2 separate regions of the Homo sapiens genome follow, and region 2 is linked to region 1. The links are contacts of gene promoters, found by promoter capture Hi-C in blood cells and fetal thymus (Javierre and others, 2016). All regions are on one chromosome and are shown on one strand. The core of a region is centred on a gene start or on the middle of the fragment in contact, and the rest is flanking DNA. Distances in the headings are between cores, read along the strand shown.

Region 1 (2,700 bases), core at 171-2,670:
TGCAGGGAGGGGTCTGTGCCCAGCATGGTCACCTGGCTGGCCAGCCTCTGACTGAGACATCCACCAGGGCAGGAGCTGGCTGGCCCCTGGCTGGGATGGGGATGTCTCCGAGGTTTGGGGCCTGGGCCTGGGCAGTGCTGAGTGCCAGTGTCTGCAGCCAGGCTGGGCGCTGGGACCCAGGGCTCGGTGGGTCGGCTGTCCACCCAGGAGCAGCCAGCTCAGCCTCCAGGCCTCTGGGGTTCGTCTGGGCTGTCCTCCCACGGGTCAGGGCTGAGGGCTTTGAGAACCTGGCCTGCCTCAGCATGGGGCGGAAATGCCAGGAACACCACAGGAGTCGGGCCTGGACTGAGTCTGCCCTGGAGACCAAGCGTTATGGGGGATTGGGGGTAGGAGCATAAACCAAGTGTGGGGACAGGGGACTCAGGCCAAGTCACTGCGGCCCAACTCCCCCCACGCTGGGGGGTCCTGCAGAGGTGGGTGGGTGCCGCCCCCACCCCAGAGCTGAACTCTGGGGGATGCTCCCCCCACCCCACAGAGGAGACCTCAGGGTGCCCACCGTGTCCCCACTGTCCCCAGGGATTCAGGGCCCAGCATCGGGCCTTTGCTCTCCCCCACTAACTCTCAGAAGAGGAAACATGGAATCCTGGGCTGTGGCTGGTCAATGAGAGGAAACATGGAATCCTGGGCTGTGGCTGGGCAACGAGGTGCCAGGGCTGTTCTTGGACAGCTGCTCCCCACACTCCCTGCCCTCACCAGAGAGGACCTTTGCTCCCTTAAATGCTCCAGGCAGACGGGCAGCTCAGAGCACAGAGGCGCTGCCTCTTGCAGGCCCCATCTCAGACTTGGAGCCTGTCCAAGTCCCCTCCCAGGACTACAGACCCCAGAGCGCCTCACCACCTCCTCCTGCAATGGAACCTGGGAGGACCGCCAGCCAGGTTGGCTCAAGCTGAGAGACCCCTGCAGAGTAGGGCTGTAGCCCCCTGGTCCCATGGTAGATAGCGTAAGACCCTGCAGACATCAGAGGTCATGGCTGAAGGTGCCAGATTTCCTGCCCTGCAGGGCATTAGGCATGGCTGCCAGTCCCAGGCTGAGGTAGAGGGCCCAGCTGTCACCTGGCTGGAGAGCCAGGGCCCAGCTTATCCCAGCTGCACGGACTGGGGACGGAGCGAGTCATCTACAGGACTAGCTGGAGGCTGTGTGACTCTCTGGACCTGGGGTTGCTGGGAGGCTGAGGCCATAGGGAGGCAGACAGCAGCCCTTTCCCCATGCCTGGCTTTTCTCAGCTGCCCTGGCCTCATTGGCACATACCTCTGGGGGTCCTGCCTTGGTGTCTATCCTGATTCCAGCCGCAGACTGCAGGCCCTCAGCTCACGGGGCAGGCTCGGTGCTGCCTGTGCTCCACACCAACCTCCTCTTCTCTGCAGCTCACCTCCTCCTCTCTGCAGCTGGCTCCTTCCCCTTCCAGCTACTTCCTCTTTGTCCTGAGAGGCCCCCTCTCATCTGAGACAGAAACAGACGGCTGGAGCTGGGTGGGCGGGCTAGAGGGTAGGGCTGAGAACCTTCACCTCCAGGAAAAATCTACACCCCACTCCCTCGAGGTAGAGGCCCTCCAGTTGCGGGCCTACGAATCGGAGTCAAGTTCAGCTGCAGGCCACAGACACCTAAGGAACAGTGGCTTCAGCAAGGTTGTTCATTACTCTCGAACACTAAGCAGGTCCAGGGGCTGGCAGGCTAGAGACGGCCTTGCTAGAGATGATGGCATTGCTCCACTGCCATTGGGAGCCAGGCTCTCAGATCCCAGTCCCTAGGATCCCTGCCTTCATGGCCTCACAGTGGCTGCTGGAACTCAGCCATTGCCTCTGTGTTCTTAGCAGAGAATAAGGGACATCCCAGAGGAGACTTCCTGGAAGTCCCACAGGGCACTTCCACTTATCTGTGATCTGGAACTTGATCTAGAACTTAGTCACATGGCTACACTTAGCTGCAAGGGAGGCTGAGCAATGGAGGTAACTAGGGTCTTTATCTTGGAGAACGAAGCTGGGGCTGCTCACTGGCATATCTGAAAAGGTGGGCCTGGCTAGAAGCTCCTAGCAAGGGGCTCTGCCTCCCACTGCCCCACCCCCCGACTGGGGTCCCTGAGTAAGGTCTGGGACCTTGAGAACACTCCTACTTTCAATGAGGTCTGGGTGTCCACCCTGGCTCCTCCTTGTAAGGCCTATGTAGGGCAGGGGTCCAGGGTGATGGCCTCAGGGTGCCTGCAGGACACCAGTCAGGAGGGTGCAGTTCCCAAGGGTGGGGCCTGTCAGCTGCACCCCTGGGGCCAGTCTGGGTGGGCCAGGAAGTGAATGGGGAAGAGATCCATCCTCTCCCTAGCCCCTCCCAGATCTCTCTTCACCTTCCTGATGCTCTGATTTGGCCTTGGGTTCAGCCCTTACCTCCCGGCCATGGTTGGGGAGCCCCAGCCCTCTGGCTGGGTTGCTGGATGCCTGAATGCAGCTGGGCCCCAGGCATGCCCCCGAGGGTTGGGTCCTCCAGGGACTCTGGGTGAGGGTTACTCTGGGTATGGGGAGGGGCAGCCAGGTGGGTCCTGCTGTGACATTTGCAGGGCTGGGGCATGAGTATGAAGGGAGGCTGCCTTCCCTGCACTCAAGCAAAAGGCAGTTAGACAGAACAGGTTCTCTTCTGTCTTTTTTTTTTTCT
Region 2 (2,700 bases), core at 201-2,700, 33 kb before region 1:
TTTTTTTTTGTAGAGATGAGATCTTACTATATTGCTCAGGCTGGCCTTGAGTTTCTGGGCTCAAGCAATCCTCGCACTTCAGCCTCCCAAAGTGCTGGGATTACAGGCATAAGCCAGCATGCCCAGACTATTTTGCCTTTATTTTTGGAAGGATAGGTTGCTTGATATCAAATTCTTCGTTGACAACAGTTTCTTTCAGCCCTTTGAATATATTGTTCCACTTTCTCGTAGCTTCTATGGTTTTGATGTGATTCAGGTGTTAGTTGTATTTTTGTGCCCTTATTATGTGATGGGGCCCTTTCTCTTAAGCATTTTGACTGTGACGTTTCTAGGTGTGGATCTCTGTGTTTCTCCTGCTTAGGTCTGGTCGCGCTTCTTGGATTCTGCAGATTGTTTTCAGCTATCACTTCTTCAACTCTCTCTTCTGCCTCTTTATCTTATGGTTAATGCTCTGAGACTCTGTTTTTCTTCAAACAATCTTCCCCCTGACCCCGTTCTTCAAATTGGTTAATTTATATTAATCTACAAGTTGATAATTCTTCTGGTATCTCAAATCTGTTGGTGAACCCCAGTAGTAAATTTTCAACTCCAGAATTTTTGCTTGCTTTTAAAAAATAAGTTTTATTTCTTTATGAGATTCTCTCTTCATTGAGCCATTGTTAACATATTTTCCATTAATTTTTTAAACATGATTTGTTTTTGTGTTTTGAACAAACTTTTTTTTTTCTTTTTGAGACGGAGTTTCACTCTTGTTGCCCAGGCTGGAGTACAATGGCACAATCTCGGCTCACCACAACCTCCGCCTCCCAGGTTCAAGTGATTCTCCTACCTCAGCCTCCTGAGTAGCTGGGATTACAGGCATGTGCCACCATGCCTGGCTAATTTTGTATTTTTAGTAGAGATGGGGTTTCTCCATGTTGGTGAGGCTGGTCTCGAACTCCCAACCTCAGGTGATCCACCCGCCTCAGCCTCCCAAAGTCCTGGGATTACAGGCATGAGCCACCGTGCCCGGCCTGAACAAACTTTTAATAGTTTCTTTGAAGTCTGTATTAAACCCAGCATTAGTAGACATTTAGAGACACTTTCCATTCACTGCTTTGTTTCTCAGTATGGACCATACATTCTTGTTTCTTCGCGTAACTTGTAATTTTTTGGTGGCTGCTGGACATTTTAGATAATATATTCTGGCAGCTCTGGATTCTGATCCTCCCAGGGTGTGGTTATACAATAACAAACGCCTTGTGTTTGTTTAGTCACTTTCTTGGACTAAATCTGTTCCAACTTGGAATAAGTCCAGTCTCAATTCACTGCTACCTGACGTGATGCCTCAGCCTCTCCAGCCCATTGGCTATAGATCTTCCCCCAGCCCCTGAGTTTGCTCTCCGATCCAGTGTCCAGGAAAGGACTATGACACCTCCACAGTGTACATACAGTCCTGGCTCCCTCCCCCGGGCCCCGATCTGCTCCCCCAGCCTGCTTGTCTCCACTGACAGCCACTCTCTCTGCAGTGTCCGGCCGTCAGCTGCAGCCCGGGGAGCCAGGTGCAGAAACGGAAGATGACCACTCTGTAAGTGAGAGCAGGAGGAAGTGTGTCCTCCTCATACCCTGCCCCCATTCTCCCTGGGCCCTGGGAGAACCGAGTGGCAAAAATAACTGGATTCTCTCCCGTCAGGTGACTGAAGGGCCTGCGGATGAGGGCATTCGACCACGGCCGCAGGGGTCTTCACCTGTCTACGAATACACGACTGAGGCTGCCGACTTTGGACTCCAGGTGAGCCTGCTGGGCAGAGCCCCACAGGCACCCAGGTCTCCTCCTGCATCGCCCTGTGTGGGCAACTCACGCATGTCTGTTCAACCTTGCTGCCCTGCCCCGCTGCCCACTGGGCAGTGCCCACTCAGATGTCCTCTCAGACTCCTCTGTGCCCTTGGGTCCCTCCCTGTGGCCGGCCAGGGCACAGTGGGATGGAGGTGCCCTGCAGCTCTTGTGAGCATGCGTATGGGCTGATGGGGACAGGCCTCATGTTACTGTGTTTGTGTTTCAGGGGCACAGGGTGTGTGCATCCCTGCACCTGTGTAACACACTCATGCTGTCTTTGGGGACAGGGCCCCATGGCTACCTCTGGAGACAAGGACTCGGGGAAGGGATCAGAGGAGGCATGTCTATGAAAGGATTCATTTTTGTACAATTTGAATTTCTTATCTCCCTCCATACAAAACTCCAGTTGCTGTGGGGCTTCCCTATGGGCGCTGTGGGCTGTAGGGTGGGTGCTGTGGGCTGTAGGCTGGGCCCTGTCGGGAAGCAGGAAGGCCGAGAGTTGCCTTTTCTCTGTGGATGTGCCTGGAGGAACTCGGCTGCCTCTGCACACAGCTGTGTGTTGGAAGTTCTGGGCCCCTCTGAAGGGAGGGCTCCTGGTCTGGCACCAGCCTACCTGTGCCCCTCCCTGTCCCTGAGCTGGGGCAGGTGCCTAACTCCCAACACTTGTGGCTGCAGGAAGACGCCCCCGGCAGGCAAGGTTCTGCTGGGAGACGGAGATCCTGGTGGAAGCGAGATTCAGGGGACTCACGGACATTTTTCAGGATGAGTCGTCCAGAGGTGGGTACAGCAGGAGCTGAGGGTCACAGAGGTGTGTCGGTCCTCAAGGGATCCAGCCAGAGAGTCCGAGGTCAGAGCAGGCAGGGGAGGAGCAAAGAGGCTGGCAG

Evidence for each region. The method cuts DNA at HindIII sites, captures the fragments that hold promoters and counts their contacts. A CHiCAGO score of 5 or more calls a contact.
Region 2: a contact is called between a fragment that was not itself captured here and the fragment with the promoter of PLD4 in region 1, in 1 of 17 cell types (endothelial precursors). The highest score is 5.1, in endothelial precursors.

Annotation. Positions count from the first base shown.
Region 1 is chr14:104,923,599-104,926,298 of GRCh38, reverse strand. PLD4 (phospholipase D family member 4) reads right to left here and starts at 1,420. Exons shown (of 11, transcript NM_138790.5): 1 at 1,309-1,420. RefSeq lists enhancers at 586-1,095, 1,078-1,247. The HindIII fragment of the contact is 16,221 bases long and covers 1-2,700 here.
Region 2 is chr14:104,956,481-104,959,180 of GRCh38, reverse strand. AHNAK2 (AHNAK nucleoprotein 2) reads left to right here. Exons shown (of 7, transcript NM_138420.4): 2 at 1,509-1,567; 3 at 1,673-1,771; 4 at 2,492-2,593. Among named protein-coding and RNA genes, the nearest start is that of AHNAK2, 21 kb to the left of the region's middle. RefSeq lists a cis regulatory region at 2,068 and an enhancer at 1,984-2,153. The HindIII fragment of the contact is 4,463 bases long and covers 1-2,700 here.